3 separate regions of the Homo sapiens genome follow, and regions 1 and 3 are each linked to region 2. The links are contacts of gene promoters, found by promoter capture Hi-C in blood cells and fetal thymus (Javierre and others, 2016). All regions are on one chromosome and are shown on one strand. The core of a region is centred on a gene start or on the middle of the fragment in contact, and the rest is flanking DNA. Distances in the headings are between cores, read along the strand shown.

Region 1 (2,700 bases), core at 2-2,501, 290 kb after region 2:
TTTAAAACATTAATGAAAAATACGAAGAGACCATGGATTAGTTTGAATTTCTTCTGGTGACTTTGGATGTCTTTTTACACCTAATTTGGTCATGTCATTTATTCAATAAGTTTAATATCAGATACTAGTTTTAGGTACTGGGGGAATTTTTTTTTCTCGTTTGTAAACCAAGTATGTCCTACTTAGGAACTTAAAGCTTCCTGCTTTTCTTTAGGTTCTAAAGTGCATATATATATTACATTATATTTTGGTCCCTCAATGTATGTTATTTCTTTTTTTCTCTCTCTCTTTAAGGTAATACTGCATTGCATGATTGTGCAGAATCTGGAAGTTTGGACATCATGAAGATGCTTCTTATGTATTGTGCCAAGATGGAAAAGGATGGTTATGGAATGACTCCCCTTCTCTCAGCAAGTGTGACTGGTCACACAAATATTGTGGATTTTCTGACACACCATGCACAGACCAGCAAGACAGAACGTATTAATGCTCTAGAGCTTCTGGGAGCTACATTTGTAGACAAAAAAAGAGATCTGCTTGGGGCTTTGAAATACTGGAAAAAGGCAATGAACATGAGGTACAGTGATAGGACTAATATTATTAGTAAACCAGTGCCACAGACACTAATAATGGCTTATGATTATGCCAAGGAAGTGAACAGTGCAGAAGAGCTAGAAGGTCTTATTGCTGATCCTGATGAGATGAGAATGCAGGCACTATTAATCAGAGAACGTATTCTTGGTCCTTCTCATCCTGATACCTCTTACTATATTAGATATAGAGGCGCTGTCTATGCAGACTCTGGAAATTTCAAACGATGCATCAACCTATGGAAGTATGCTTTGGATATGCAGCAGAGCAATTTGGATCCTTTAAGCCCAATGACCGCCAGCAGCTTATTATCTTTTGCAGAACTATTCTCCTTTATGCTACAGGATAGGGCTAAAGGCCTGCTGGGTACTACTGTTACATTTGATGATCTTATGGGCATACTTTGCAAAAGCGTCCTTGAAATAGAGCGAGCTATCAAACAAACTCAGTGTCCAGCTGACCCATTACAGTTAAATAAGGCCCTTTCTATTATTTTGCACTTAATTTGCTTGTTAGAGAAAGTTCCTTGTACTCTAGAACAAGACCATTTCAAAAAGCAGACTATATACAGGTTTCTTAAGCTGCATCCAAGGGGAAAGAATAACTTCAGCCCTCTTCATCTGGCTGTGGACAAGAATACTACATGTGTAGGGCGGTACCCTGTTTGTAAATTTCCATCTCTACAAGTTACTGCAATACTGATAGAATGTGGTGCTGATGTGAACGTCAGAGACTCGGATGACAACAGTCCCCTGCATATCGCTGCTCTTAACAACCATCCAGACATCATGAATCTCCTTATTAAATCAGGTGCACATTTTGATGCCACAAACTTGCACAAACAAACTGCTAGTGACTTGCTGGATGAGAAGGAAATAGCTAAAAATTTAATCCAGCCTATAAATCATACCACATTGCAGTGTCTTGCTGCTCGTGTCATAGTGAATCATAGAATATATTATAAAGGGCATATCCCAGAAAAGCTAGAGACTTTTGTTTCCCTTCATAGATGATAACTTGACTGTATTTTAGCACTGTTAAAGCACGAATTGGTAACAGTTGTTTCATAAATGAGCACTGTTGTGATAACACCAGCATTCATTTAGCTTGATTGATATCATTGTGCTCTCATTGGCTAAAGCATTATAAGCATCAAATTTACAACATTGGTTTCCCAATATTTAATATAAATATACCATATAATATATTGTTTGTGAATTATTGAGAAATGTAACATTCAAATTTCTAAAATTGTCTGCCAAAGGCTTATTCATTCTGGTTTTGTTTGCTGTTGGGTGTTTGGGGCAGAGTTAACCATTTCTCCATGGTGTCTTTATACTTTACTGGTTTGTGAATTTTATACAATTGAAAGTCTTTTTTTCTTGCTTCTTTCTTCTCTTCTCAAGTTTCCCCCCTGTTTCTACTTTATTGTTTGTCCTAACCATTTCTACTACAGTTTTTTCCTTATGGACCCATACTAGGTTGTACAAACCTTAAGGACTCGTTACCATTTGCAGTTACCATAAGTGCTTTATCTTCTCTATGCACAGGCTTAAACTTGACTGTTGTATGTTAGCATATTTTCTATGCAGCAGTTGGTCAACTTCAACTCAAAACACTGTTTTCTTATGTTTGTTACAAACTTAATTTTTTGAAAGTACTCTGTAGCATGACAATTTTTAGAGCTGCAGGTTAGCTATTATAGCTCAAGCTTTTTTGTTTGTTTTTTTCTTCACTTTCTTCACATCTGAGGTTTCTTTCTCTAATCCACTGAAATTATTGTGTGCTAAATTTGGGAAACAGATCTATTCTAACTCATTAACCCAGTTGAAATTTAGGTCTGTCATCTTAATATATCATGCAGTAAAAGGAAGAATCTTTTTAAAGTGACCCACCTTTCATGCTGCTCCAGCATTGTCCTGCTTGTGCTGATGGTGTGATTAGGTGTAGAGAATTTGCTTAAATTTAACTTCAAAGTTCATCACACAGCTTAATGAGTCACATTGAAATACTCAGTAATTGAACTGCAAATCACTTTTAGTTACAAAAAGAGCTAAAGCATGTCAGTGGCATGATGCTTGCCAAGCCAGATCTAGGCATCTAGGATAA
Region 2 (2,700 bases), core at 63-2,562:
GAAAAGTTTACAGGTTACTCTGTCACAAAATACTTTGTTAATTCACTACCCCGCAGCAACACACATCACCAAGGCTGGCTTCTGGAATGCTTTCTACTTGTAGCCATTTTTGAACAATAGGTGATTCCGCTTTTAACAACACTGTTAGAATATAATGTAGCGAGTTTTACCAGAGATGTTTAAGACTACCTGGCACAAGTAAATTTCATTGTATACATGTATATACACGAGGGAGGGTGATCATAGTCTAGAAAAAAACAGGTCTTCAGAAGTCTAGAACTTTAATAACCTTAAATCCAAATTATTCCCTGCGTCCATCCATAATGAGAAGGAAGAAATCTACACTTGCATTTCTTCCACCTTTCACATCTTTCTCATTTAAATCCTACTGTACTTGATTTGTGTTGTTCCCAACGTACTAGGTGCTATGCATGACGTAGAAACGTGTTTCCTTATATGTATGTACTAGCAGGCTCCTTCAAGCACATGCCTAAGGTTGAAAGATTCAAATATAATTATAGCCTCTTAAATTATTGCGTCAGAGCCCGCCCTATCCCCTCAGAAAAAGCCCCCTTTTACACCATCAAATGAAATATCAGGTTATTTGCACTGGATATTTTTTAAAAGAAAATATTTGATTTTAAAATCAAAGAGTTCTTGGTTTTCCATCATTTCACTAATTGTCTTACTAGAGACCCGAGTCTCCTTTGTCAAAATATATTTCAGTACGCATTTTAAAAAATATGTGTGTGTGTATACTTAAATATATATATATATAAAGTCTTGGACTTATTTTCACCTAGCCTGGGGCATATCGTGGATAGTTTCAATCGACAAAACAGGCACTCTCTGGCCTAGGAGTGGAATCCATCCTCAATTTTCGCAGGCTCCTCACAATTCTCTATTTGGAAGAAGTGTCCCTCTCCTTCCCTTTTCTTTTCCTCCTTTACTCAGCGTCAGTCCCCGCAGCCATCTCCTCCGACCCTTTTTGTCTACGTCCCAGCGTCGCGAACCACAGCGGCGGAGGTGGAGCGGGGAGAGGCGTTAGGCCGGGCGGCTAAAACGCGCCGTTAAAGTGGGGGAGAGATTGCGCGGAGCCCACGCGATCCCTGGGACGCCGGAGACAACGGGGCTCTTGGGAAGGCGCGGAGCCCGGGGAAGCCGGGGATGTGCGCGTGAGCCGTGCCCGCAGGGTCTCCCCGCCTCCGCCACCTTTCTTGGGTGGCTCTCCGCCTCGTCCTCCCTCCGAGGGCCGTTGGTACATTCCTAGTGACTCCAAGCGCTTAAAAGGGGCCCGGGAGGATGAACCCCACAGATCTGAACCTGATTTGTGTGTGCACCGCGTCTCCAGCGATCCCGGATCCACTGCGCTGCCAGGGGCCTGGGGGTGGGTCTCTTGCTGTCTCTGCGACGACATCCTTACGTTTCGGCACTCTAATGCTGGGTTTGTGCGTGTGTGTCTGCTTAGCGGTCTAGCGGGCTGTTAGGCTCCCTCGCCCCCAGCTCCTTGGCTCGCTCAGCTCCTCCACCGCAGCCCAGCAGTGAGACGCGCGCGCAGCCAGCTCCCCACGAGATGGAACAGACCGAAGTGCTGAAGCCACGGACCCTGGCTGATCTGATCCGCATCCTGCACCAGCTCTTTGCCGGCGATGAGGTCAATGTAGAGGAGGTGCAGGCCATCATGGAAGCCTACGAGAGCGACCCCACCGAGTGGGCAATGTACGCCAAGTTCGACCAGTACAGGTGAGCGCGCTGCAGCTTCAATGCCAGGCGGCGCCCACTCGCCCCGTCTGAGGAGGAATGGACGTGGGGGACGCAGCCCAAAGTGACTGGCTCGGGAAGCTCGGGCCGCGCTGCGTCCGCCGCTCGCCCCCTCGCTGGCCAGCCGCGGGGCTGGCACGACTCGCTTGGGGCTCCGCGGCCACAGCGCAGGCGGAAGGTGGATCCTACTGGCCTTGCTGACCTCCGGCCGGGAACGGCGGACAGGCGCCGGGAAGGGAGGCCACCGCGCGTCTGCGAGATTTTCTGTTCTCTTCTCTCCCGCAAACCCCTCTGCTTCTAAACCACCAGTCCTCCTGCCCCTGGCCTCGGGAGCAATGCCCACACTCCCAAGCCATCGTTAACCCCGGGCGCGGAGATGCGGAGAGACCGCACTCAGGTTCGGGCCCTCCTGACACCTTAAGGAACCGTCTGGCCGGACTAGCAGAGGGTGCTCCCAGGGGAGCACTACATCAGCCATCGGGAGAAGTGTGTGATGTTGAAGAAGACAAGTCACCCGCGTCAGTTCTCCATCACTGCGCCTTCGGTCGCCTGCAACCGGGCACCTTATAGCAAGCATTTTTACTCATGTAAAATAGCGTCTTGTGGCCGTCAGCTGCCACTACGGAATTTCTGCTGTTCCCTTTCCCAAACCAATTTAACTAACTTCCCCGACTGTGGGTTTATTCAAATCCACTGCCAAGTTTCGCAGATTAAATATTCGACCGTCGTTTTTTTCAGCCCCCAAATGATCTGATTTATCTTATCCTTGCTTCTGACGATCTGTAATGTAAATTAAAGACCCCTACTTCCCAGATGTACTTGAGTGAGGTGCCCTGGTAAGCTGGCTTTTTTGCAGCCCCGGCTTGGTGATTAAGTCGAATCTCTCTACCAATCCTCCGGGGCCAGAGGTAAAATTTAATCACCCCGAAGTGTGAGAGG
Region 3 (2,700 bases), core at 96-2,595, 500 kb after region 2:
ATTGTTGGTTGTTAATTGCTGGTGGTGGGGTGAGGGAAGGGTAACACAGCAGACTCCTCTCACTGTCACTTTCCCAGACTTTGAATGAGACTTTGACAGAGCCTTCAATTACTGCAATGCCTGTGATCTCATTAGAAAAATCTTATTAAATCTAAAGAAATAGACCAGAAGAATATCAGATTGGTTTTACCAAAACATTATGCCAACAAAAGTTCCAAAGGCAGATTTTCTGAGGCCAATATAGCTAAAGAACTTCTTGGGCTAGGACAGAGATGTAGCTTGGATTCTTCCTCTATCCTTCCAAAACTCTGGCTTGCCTTTAGACCCTTGTATACTCTCTGGTCATCTAACTGAGTGAAAACAGGAAACACAATCCTATTAAAAAGACCTGGGGATAATGTAAAACTAATCCTACACATATTTAGATGAAGTAACAATTGGTGCCAAGAGGAGGGAAGGTATTTGGGAAAAATGGAGTTTTAAGTCTTTCTTTTAAAAAGAGGCTTTAAAAATACAGGGAAAACTAAAAAATATCTCACTTTTAGCAAAGTACCTTCCAATCACCTATAGAAAGTCATTTTCTATAGAAAATCCCTCTTCCCACCCAAGTTCTGGACCAAATAAAAGGAAGTCAGAGTCAGATAGATGGACAACAAAATGCTTTTCTACAGGTGATTGCTATTTGACTAATTGCAAATGCTGCCACAATCTCTAATTATGGGTTGACATAATTAGAGTTGACAATTACGTGAGACTAAGGAAAAAGTAACATAACTACAGTTAAGCTAAGAGATTGTCAGGTTTTCTCTCACAAATATGTTGCAGCCATCAAAAAAGAATAATCGTGTGCTGATATAGAATTATCTCTAAGATATATTTAAATTTAAAAAGCATGTGTAAACAGTGTATGTATTATGTAAATATTTGTGTAAAAAGAAGATATATGTATATATAAATGCCTACACATGTATTTGCTTATGTAGGAAACAATATCTCTAGAATTATTAAAAAAAAAAAAGAAAAAAAAGAAACCTGTAACAATAGTTACTTCTAGAGAGGGGAATGGATTCCAAGGCAGGGAGGTCAACTAACTCATCACCATACACTCTTTTATGTTTGAATGTGCTGTATAAATGTGTGCATGTGTGTGTGAATGTGTTTGTGTATTTATGGTGAAGCATAGAGAGGTACAGTAGTCAATTCCACACCCTACTGAGAATAGAGTTTCAAATTAAGGATTCAAGTGTAGTGAAAGTAGACACAGTTATCATTTGAAATTAAAGGGAAAGGAAAGCCAAATATTATAAGGCCTATCCTCAAATTGTTTTAAGTTAATGCTCCTCAATCTCGTTTTGGCCCCAAACACATTGAAGGATCCACATTGTTCATGAACAGCCACTCCTCTTAAAGGTGAGTCTCAGTTTAGTGCCACGTACTTCGTAGGTCTAGGACATGTAGCCTTAAACTTGTTCCAGGGGCCATTGGCAGAGAGGGATGGGAGAGTAGAACATTCCCAAAAATGTAATCACAGAATGGTTTGCTTTAAAGGAACATATCCTTAGAAAACTATTAGACAGGCTTTTGAACCATTATTGTTTTGTGTTCCCCTATTATAACTAAGATAATTTCTACATATTATTTCTCTCTCTCTCTCTCTCTCTCTCTCTATATATATATATATATATATATATATTCTGCTTAGTGCCATCTTGCCAGCTAATGCATTTTGCATTAAAATGCTTCGATCAGCCTCAGCTAAACCCAATATAGGATCCTGTTTCTTTCCCATCCTGATCTAAAGGGTAGCATATGAAAACCTTGGGGAAGGAGAGGGGCAATACTATCCTTTGGTGATTCTGATACCAAGTCCAATTTAACATCTATACTTACTCATTCAGGCAGCCATTCTTGGTGAATAAATTGTTCAGAATCAAATATCAAACTGGTGGCCCATTGGGTCATTATAGCCTTCTACCTGAGGGGGAAATTAAACTGAATCAAAGGAAAGTTTCACCAGATTCTTCTCAATGTACTAAAAAGAACAAAAACTACCATAACAATTCTAAGAATTTGTGATCCTAGTATAATACAGCCATGACTTACTGGGACATAACTGAACACTTTATAGAGTGACACTTTCCAAAGATTCTTGTGAGCTTTTACTTAAATTTTTCCCATAAATTTACTAATTACCCTTATCAAAAGGAAATTCATGACATAGCTCAATGCTAAGAGTCCAGGGAACAAAGTAAAGGCTGGAAATAGTGACCTGGTTTCACTAGAAATTGCAGGAAAGTACTGGTTTATAGGTCACTGGTTTTTTTGTGCCAGAAATGTCTGACTAAATTAGGTTACATCCTGCAGGCCCTTCACCTGTCTCTCACGTAAATAACATTACCCAAGGGTGTCCTCTCAGCCCTACTCATGACTGGCACAAAGACATTTCAGCCCACATAAATTACCTTTTTTCTGGTTTTGTGAGAAACTTGGTTCCCTCAAATGGTTGTGATATGAAAATTCGCTCAAAGCCGAAGGTGAATGATAAAATAAAATGGGCTCTAAAAGGACACTTCTACATCTAAATTCAAGAATTCTATGGTTCTAGGATATAGTATAAAAATTAATGGAATCTGTTTCACATAAGCAAGCAGATTTAGGATTAGAAGCATGTCATAACTTGAAGGCAACCCAAAATTTATT

The links. Contacts are between HindIII fragments. The CHiCAGO score rates a contact against its expected background, and 5 or more counts as called.
Region 1: a contact is called between a fragment that was not itself captured here and the fragment with the promoter of CDO1 in region 2, in 1 of 17 cell types (total CD8 T cells). The highest score is 5.7, in total CD8 T cells.
Region 3: a fragment that was not itself captured here is called in contact with the fragment with the promoter of CDO1 in region 2 in 10 of 17 cell types (monocytes, total CD4 T cells, total CD8 T cells and 7 more); the score reaches 9.0 in monocytes.

The regions. Positions count from the first base shown.
Region 1 is chr5:115,523,212-115,525,911 of GRCh38, reverse strand. FEM1C (fem-1 homolog C) reads left to right here. Exons shown (of 3, transcript NM_020177.3): 3 at 295-2,700. The coding sequence ends at 1,604. Among named protein-coding and RNA genes, the nearest start is that of FEM1C, 20 kb to the left of the region's middle. The HindIII fragment of the contact is 2,106 bases long and covers 199-2,304 here.
Region 2 is chr5:115,815,271-115,817,970 of GRCh38, reverse strand. It overlaps CDO1 (cysteine dioxygenase type 1), which reads left to right and starts at 1,312. Exons shown (of 5, transcript NM_001801.3): 1 at 1,312-1,743. The coding sequence starts at 1,574. LOC124901049 (a long non-coding RNA gene) reads right to left here and starts at 883. Exons shown (of 2, transcript XR_007058908.1): 1 at 800-883. The HindIII fragment of the contact is 6,274 bases long and covers 1-2,700 here.
Region 3 is chr5:115,313,486-115,316,185 of GRCh38, reverse strand. It overlaps LOC105379129 (a long non-coding RNA gene), which reads right to left. Exons shown (of 5, transcript XR_948684.3): 2 at 1,891-1,975. Among named protein-coding and RNA genes, the nearest start is that of CCDC112, 18 kb to the right of the region's middle. The HindIII fragment of the contact is 4,611 bases long and covers 1-2,700 here.